Linked DNA regions of Homo sapiens: region 2 is linked to region 1. Evidence: promoter capture Hi-C in 16 types of primary human blood cells and fetal thymus (Javierre and others, 2016). All regions are on one chromosome and are shown on one strand. The core of a region is centred on a gene start or on the middle of the fragment in contact, and the rest is flanking DNA. Distances in the headings are between cores, read along the strand shown. Region 1 holds the start of HAUS1 (HAUS augmin like complex subunit 1). Region 2 overlaps LOXHD1 (lipoxygenase homology PLAT domains 1).

Region 1 (4,176 bases), core at 718-3,217:
GGTTCAAGTGATTCTCTTGCCTCAGCCTCCCAAGTGGCTGGGATTACAGGCACGTGCCACCATGCCTGGCTAATTTTTGTATTTTTAGTAGAGATGGGGTTTTGCCATGTTGGTCAGGCTGGTCTTGAACTCCGGACCTCAGGTGATCCACCTGCCTCGGCCTCCCAAAGTGCTGAGAATATAGGTGTGAGGCACCGCATCCAGCCAGAGCAGAGATATGTTTGAAGCAAAAAGAATAAGCAAGACAGGCTGGGTGTGGTGCCTCATGCTTGTAATCCCAGCACTTTGAGAGGCCCAAGTGGGAGCATCACTTGGGGCCAGGAGTTCAAAAACAGCCTGGGCAACATAGTGAGACCCTCTTTCTACAAAAAATACAAAAAGTTAGCTGGGTGTGGTGGTGCACGCCTATAGTCCCAGCTACTAAGGAGGCTGAAGCGGGAGGATTGCTTGAGCCCAGGAGTTCAAGGTTGCAGTGAACTGTGATCACCACTATACTCCAGCTTGGACGAAAGAGCAAGACCCTGTCTCTAAAAATAAAATAAAATAAATAATAAATAAGCTTGGCTTGCTAGTAAGTTTCCTTTGAAAAGAAAATCATTTTAGGCTGGGTGTGTTGGCTCACACCTGTAATCCTAGCTCTTTGAGAGGCCGAGGCAGGCAGATCACTTGAGGTCAGGAGTTTGAGACCAGCCTGATCAACGTGGTGAAACCCCCCGTTCTACTAAAAATAAAAAAATTATCCCTGCATGCTAGCACAAGCCTGTAATCCCAGCTACTAGAGAGGATGAGACAGGAGAATTGCTTGAGCCTGGGGACGGGGGTTGGAGGTCGCAGTGAGCCAAGATCATGTCACTCTGCACTCCAGCCTAAGCGACAGAGAAACACTCCATCTCAAAAAGAAAAGAAAAGGTCGGGCGCAGTGCCTGTAATCCCAGCACTTTGGGAGGCCAAGGCGGGCGGATCACCTGAAGTCAGGAGTTCGAGACCAAGCTGGCCAACCTGATGAGATCCCATCTTTACTAAGATACAAAAAATTAGCTGGGCGTGGTGATGCACACCTGTAATCCCAGCTACTCGGAAGGCTGAGGCAGGAGAATCGCTTGAACCCGGGAAGCAGAGGTGGCAGTGAGCTGAGAGCCGAGAGCCGAGATCGTGCCACTGCCCTCCAGCCTGAACAACAGAGACTCCATCTCAAAAAAAAAAAAAAAAAAAAAAAAGCTGGGCGCGCTGGCTCACGCCTGTAATCCCAGCACTTTGGGAGGCCGAGGTGGGCGGATCATGAGGTTAGGAGTTCGAGACCAGCCTGGCCAATATGGTGAAACCCCGTCTCTACTAAAAACACAAAAATTAGCCAGGCGTGGTGGCGCTTGCCCGTAGTCCCAGCTACTTGGGAGGCTGAGACAGAAGAATCGCTTGAACCCAGGAGGCAGAGGTTGCAGTGAGCCGAGATCATGCCACTGCACTCCAGCCTGGGCGACAAAGCGAGACTCTGTCTCAAAAAAAAAAAATGTCCCTAGTTTTTAGGTTGGGGGAACTAACGGATCAAGTTAAGATTGCCTCAGCTCATATTGCCAGGGTAGAATATAAATTCTGAGTGGATGCAATCAATGTGGAAGAAACACAAACATCTTGCTAAGCAAGAACCAAACGTTTCAAGTACTTTTTTTTAACGACAAGTGATTCAAACAAGAAATAAAAATAAAAGAAAGAAAAAACAACCTGGTTCTAGGCGGCTCTATCTCTCGTAGTGTTGATTATACCGCGGAAGGCGGGAAGAGCTGGGAAGTGGCAACGAAGCGAGGCTTGCAATGCCAGAGCCTTCGACCAGCCTTGCACAGGGGCTCAACGGCCAGGAGTCTCAGGTAAAACCACAACTCCCAGAAATCCCGGGCCCGGCGAGGGGCGGGTGCCAACGGCGTGTGGGCGGGGCCTAGGGAGTGAGCGGGGCGCATCTCCCGCTAGGAGTTCCTAGTAAAGTGGCGGGAGCCGCAGCTATGGAGCCGCAGGAGGAGAGAGAAACGCAGGTGATGGGGCGGGAATGGGGATCGTTGGCCTCCTGGAAAACGCGTTTTTGACACCCCCGCGCCGACAGCGGGTCTCCTGTGCGCGCCACGTCTACTTTTCTCTCCCCTATTCCACACATCCGTCTTTTAGTGCCGCCGTCACTATCTGCAAGCCCCCCGTGCTTAGACTCTCCTGAAGGCCTTTCCCTTCCTGCCCGGGCCTCCCCTTGTTTGGATCTGGCCCGGGAGAGGCGTTGAGCAGCCCGTGTCCACAGACTCTGGAGTGGGACTTATGAAGCCAAACCCGCCTTCCGGTTCGCTGCTCAGCCCGGCGGCTTCCACATCTGAACTGCTTCCGCGCCCTGCATCCCAACACTGGGAGCCTCCCGGCGCGGCGGGGCTTCTGGTGATCGAGGGACAATTGCTTTTTTCAGACCATGCACGGTCTAATAATGCGTTCGCATTATTATGGTCTATTAAGCTTTAAGGTTTTTCAAGCGAGGCAAATTGTTAGCCTGTACCGCTTTTGCAGATTTGGAAAAGAACGGATTGTTCTCTGGTAATTTTCAGTATTGTACGTTTCTTTGTGTACTTGCTCACTTTTTATTTCCTGATATCTAGTATCTCCCTAAAGACAAGTGAGGTTGTGAAGTAGGACTCCAAAATAGTCACAGAAAGCATTTAGTTTGCTTTTGATCACTTCTTTGTCATATTCTCATCGAGCCATTACAGTAAACAAGGCTTATAATATTTGTCTTTCTTTTAATGGTTAGGTTGCTGCGTGGTTAAAAAAAATATTTGGAGATCATCCTATTCCACAGTATGAGGTGAACCCACGGACCACAGAGATTTTACATCACCTTTCAGAACGCAACAGGGTCCGGGACAGGGATGTCTACCTGGTAATAGAGGACTTGAAGCAGAAAGCAAGTGAATACGAGTCAGAAGGTGAGATTAAGTCCAGAGTTTTGAACGAGAATAAATAGAGGTAACCAAATTTTATAACACTAAAGTATACAGGATTAATTTACTGTAGACTACTTGTTTTGCTCCTTTATTTTTCCCAGATTTTCTTCCACTCTGTTATAGTAGTAACTTTATTGTTTTATGTTTATATATATGTATATGTATGTGTGTGTGTGTGTGTGTGTGTGTGTGTGTGTGTGTGTGTGTATATATTTTAGACAATCTTGCTCTGTCGCCCAGGCTGGAGTGCAGTGGTGTGATCTCAGCTCACTGCAACCTCCATCTCCTGGGTTCAAGTGATTCTCATGCCTCAGCCTCCCAAGTAGCTGGGACTACAGGCCTGCACCACCACACCCGGCTAATTTTTGTGTTTTAGTAAAGACAGGGTTTCACAATATTGGCCAGGCTGGTCTCGAACTCCTGACTTCAGGTGATCCGCCTGCCTCAGCCTCCCAAAGTGGTAGGATTAGAGGCATGAGCCACCCTGCCTGGCCAGTAGTAATTCTCTAAGTAATAAATGTTATTATACTAAATATCTTATTGGTACTCTGATAGCAAAACAGTAAGCCTTAAAAGAGTCTAAACTTGTTAGTCTGACACACAAGATGCCTTGTGGTTTTTTACTTACCTATCTGTTTTTTCTGTTTCCGGTCTCCATGATTTAGTCATACGGACCTATCAGGACACCTGAGGTGGTGGCCATGAAATGTGAGACTTGGACGAAATTACTCTATGACTACGTATCAGGAGATTGCATTAGAATTTTCTGCTGGGCATATATAGTTTGAAAAAGTGCATTCAAGGCCGGGCACGGTGGCTTACGCCTGTAATCCCAGCACTTTGGGAGGCCGAGGCGGGCGGATCACAAGGTCAGGAGATCAAGACCATCCTGGCTAACACGGTGAAACACCGTCTCTACTAAAAATACAAAAATTAGCCGGGCGTGGTGGCGGGCGCCTGTAGTTCCAGCTGCTCGGAAGGCTGAGGCCGGAGAATGGCGTGATCCCAGGAGGCGGAGCTTGCAGTGAGCCGAGATCGCACCACTGCACTCCAGCCTGGGCGACAGAGCAAGACTCCGTCTCAAAAAAAAAAAAAGAAAAAAAGAAAAAGTGCATTCAAGATGCCTATTGTTTTGATAATACAAACCACAAAAGTAAAGATTGACAAAAATCTTTTTAGATACGAGAATACACCAAAGAGAGGAAGT
Region 2 (4,176 bases), core at 853-3,352, 550 kb after region 1:
ATCAGAATATGTGTACCAGATTTGTAGTAGCTTGACTTGTAATAGCAAAAAAACAAAAACAAAACCCCAGAAATAACCCAGATGTTCATTGACAATGGAATGGCTAAGTAGACAGTGGTGTATGTATCAAATGCAATAGTAATCAGCAATAAAAAAGAACAAACTATATATTGTGTCACACGTGGATAAATCAGATATAACGCTGAAAGAAAAGCTAGACCCACACAAATGTGCACACTGTATGGTTCCATTTAAAAGTTCAAGAACAGGCCAGGAGCAGTAGCTCACACCTGTAATCCTAGCACTTTGGGAGGCCGAGACAGGCAGGTCATGAGGTCAGTTCAAGACCAGGCTGACCAACGTGGTGAAACCCCGTCTCTACTAAAAATACAAAAATTAGCCAGGCGTGGTGGCGCACACCTGTAATTCCAGCTACTCAGGACGCTGAGGCAGGAGAATTGCTTGAACCTGGGAGGCAGAGGTTGCAGTGAGGCGAGATCACGCCACTGCACTCCAGCCTGGGTGACAGAGCGAGACTCCATCTCAAAAAAAAAGTTTAAGAACAGGAAAAAGACTAATCTATGATGACAGAATCGGGAGATTTGTCGCCTCTGAGAAGGGGTGTGAAGGAGCATTCTGGGGGCTGGAAATATTTCATATTCTGATCTGAATACTGGTTGCACAGGCATGTGCATATGTAAACGTACCTTCATAAGTTTTGTTCTGTATATACAATATTGCTCAAGTTTAAAATTTTAACTTAAAGAAAAACTCAATTCAAATAACTGAAGAACTATCTTGTAGAAGACAGATACCTTGTGGAGGACACAGAATTCTGTTGAACTCCAGATGGGAAGACCCCCACTAATAAAGTTTCCAAGTCAGCACAAACAATTGTCAATCTGTTGCTCTTAGCAACAGCCCAGCACATGAGAGACAGTCAAATAATTATCTGGATGAATGATCATATGAATGAATGAAACAATCAATGAATAAATATGGAACAAAACTGACCAGGATTTGAAGCCCAGTTCTACCATTATTGGCTATGTGATTTCAACCAAATGGTTTACTAAGCTTCAATTTCCTCATCTCTGAAGTAGGAATAAATTCTTCCTTGAAGGACTGTGATAAGGATTAAGTAAAATAGCTTTCAACTCTTAAACTCATTGACCTAGAAGTTACATTTCTGGGAATTTACCTTATAGGCATTCTTCCACAGTTGCATGAAAAGATAGGCATTTCATAAGTGGTTACTATCATCATCATCACCATTGCTATAGTTTGAATATGTCCCCTCCAAAATTCAGGTGTTGCCATTGTGATAGTATTAAGGGGTGGGGCCTTTAAGAGGTGATTAGGCCATGAGAGCTTCCCCCTCGTGAAAGGGATTGGGTGCCGTTATAAAGGGGCTTGTCCTTCTGCCTATTGCCATGTGGGAACACAGCAAGAAAGTTCTCACCAGATACTGGCACCTTGATCTTGGACTTCTCAGCCTCCAGAATTTTTGAGGAAGAAAAAAAAATATGTTCTTTATAAATCACCAGTCTCAGGTATTCTGGCATAGCAGCACCAATGGACTAAGAGAGAAATCATTGCTATCATTTCCATTGACAACATCCCCAAGGAAGCTGCCTTGGAAAATTGCATCCCAACAGATGCTGGGGGACTCCTGTCTAGGATGCAGGAGAGGAGATGCCTCCGGGGCTGGAAGCCTGTGCAGGGTGGCCTCTGAGGCCCCCTTCTACTCTCCAGTTCTGGAATGAGTTATTCTTCCCATCATGGGCCCTGTCTTAGGAGAGAGAGCAATGTGCCACGTTCAGCCTGCCCTCAAAGCATTGAGGGAGCTGCTCTCCTCCCTCTGGTTATTGGGGAATCCCAGGGTAGCCAGAAGGTAGCCTAAGAAGAGAGAAGGAACACCTAGGCTTTTCTTCCCTCCTTCTTCCTCCCCATCACACTCATCAAGACTCTCCACGTAACACCAGAGCCCAGAGTTCAAAGGAAGTGGGGGAACCGTTGTTCTAGCACTGAGAGGGTGACAATGACAGTACAGCTGGAGCTCAGCATGTGACCACCGTTAGCATCATCCACATTTATAGGCAGTACCCTGCAACAGACAGGAGAATCCATGGTTCCCTTAGAAATGTCAGCGTGGCACCCACCTCCACTTGCTCTTCTCCAGCTATTTTTACCACAGTCAAAATCGGGCAGTACAAGACCAAGGACCAGCCAGACCAGCTGGATTCAAATCCTAACTCTGCTATTTGCTAGCTGTGTGATCTTGGGCAAGTTACTTAACTTCTCTGTGCTTCAGATTCCTCATCTGAAAAAAAAGGATAACACATCTGCTGCAATGTGTCATCATGAAGATGAAATTAGTTAACATGAATAAAGTGCTTAACTCAGTGCCTGGTGCATGGTGCATGATCCTATTTGGCAGCATCATGAGATGAAATGGGGCGCTTGCCTCGAAAAAGATATTTGAGGTTCTTGTTGTCCATCCTGTTTGTGACCTTGCTCAAGTCACTTAATGTCTCAGGGCCTCAGTCTTTAACTTGTGAAGTGGTGCTGATCCGCCTGCCTTGACTGTGCTCAGGGATCTTAAGGATCAAACATGAGAACATTAGTAAAAAGGCTTCTGAAAGGATAAAAAGGAGAACGATCATTATGGCCACACTGAGGCATGCAGAGCCCGTAAACAGAAGTCAACAGTGTGCTGCTGGCTGTGAGAGGTTCTAGAATGATCTCACCAACAGTCACGTGGCTGGGGAGAATCACCTGGGAAGCCAAGCACACATGGTGGGGATGCTGCCCTGATGTCTCACCTCCCAGCCCCTCCCCTCACAAGAGGGTCAGAGCTTGAGGCACATGTACTGTTAGAAGGTGGCGGATGCTTCCTTTTTCCTGGGCCCACTTCCTCCTACTACAGCCCCCCCTTCTACCCTTGGAGGTACCCAGGATTCTGTACCTGGAAAGGGGCCACAGCCTTCCTGATCTCAGCTGAGACTACCTCCTCTAAGCCCAGGACTGTGCAGGGGCTGAATGATGAGGACTAAAGACAAGTACAGCAAGGCCCCACCCTCACGGAGTTTAGGGTGACTGTGGCTGCAAGCCGGACACAGCTGGACAAGCTTTGCAGGAAACAATGGAACAATTATGAATTGGATGTAATCAGGGAACTCATGGTGGACTGGAATCAAGGAGGGCTTCATGGAAGAGATGGGATCAGAACTGGGCTTTCAGAGTGAGGACAGGAAGAGGGAGAAAGGGGAAGACAAACAAGGCCATGGGCAGGCACAGAGCACACATTCAATAAATACTTGCTGAATGAATGAATGAGTGAATGCATGGATGACTATGGCGCTTACGGGGACTGGTGAGCCACTTTGGAGTCAGCATTGAGAATTTAAATGGCTTCAGAGACTAGGCAGGCAGCACTGATGAGTAAACCAGACCTAGTATGAGATGACAGGGAGTGGTGGAGACTGTGATAAGCTGGACGTCCACAGCCTATTGGCATTCACAGAAAAAAGGATTTCAAAACGCTGGAAAGGAAAAAAACAACTTAAACTCTGCTGGCCAAAACCAGCTCTAGGGTCACAGTTCACTTCTTTGGTTTACCTGGCAAGGAGTTAGAGCAATTTCAAGCAGGTCTCATGTGGCCCAGGGAAAGATGAGACTAGAAGGACAAGGCCCTGGGGTCCAGAGCACCGGCCGCCTTCGACATATGGGATGGACATCTCCTTGCAAAGCCCCAGGCTCCCTGTCTCCATCAACCACAGTGGGCATAGGATGAGCTGTCAGGCTTCCTCCCCAAGACATCCTTTCATGACCCCAGCAGTTCAGGGCGCTCTGCCTGATGCAGACCACCTACTCGGGGACCAGACTGGAACGTGGCTTTGGGGATGTTCAGGAGCTGGAGAACATGGGGCCATGGGGGCACTGTGGCTCTAGTCTATTCTGTTCCACTGAGAATCGGGGGCTAAAGGCAAGTTGCTCCACCTGTCTGTACAACAGGGACCCCACCATCCCTGCATAATGCCTGCCTTCTTACTCCGAGGGGATATGGAACAGACACATGGGATAATCAGTGAGGAAGGGCTTGCTCCGAAATCTTAGAATGACTCCCCATAGACAGGAACAGACCCCTGCCCACCGCAGCCAGCTGCACCACCC

Evidence for each region. Contacts are between HindIII fragments. The CHiCAGO score rates a contact against its expected background, and 5 or more counts as called.
Region 2: a fragment that was not itself captured here is called in contact with the fragment with the promoter of HAUS1 in region 1 in 2 of 17 cell types (non-activated CD4 T cells and naive CD4 T cells); the score reaches 7.6 in non-activated CD4 T cells.

What each region holds. Positions count from the first base shown.
Region 1 is chr18:46,102,418-46,106,593 of GRCh38, forward strand. HAUS1 (HAUS augmin like complex subunit 1) reads left to right here and starts at 1,968. Exons shown (of 9, transcript NM_138443.4): 1 at 1,968-2,024; 2 at 2,777-2,951. The coding sequence starts at 1,995. It also overlaps a transcript of ATP5F1A not described here. RefSeq lists a silencer at 1,793-1,892 and an enhancer at 2,283-2,372. The HindIII fragment of the contact is 1,925 bases long and covers 558-2,482 here.
Region 2 is chr18:46,652,702-46,656,877 of GRCh38, forward strand. The region is part of intron 1 of LOXHD1 (lipoxygenase homology PLAT domains 1); the gene reads right to left. Among named protein-coding and RNA genes, the nearest start is that of LOXHD1, 2.4 kb to the right of the region's middle. The HindIII fragment of the contact is 2,054 bases long and covers 1,076-3,129 here.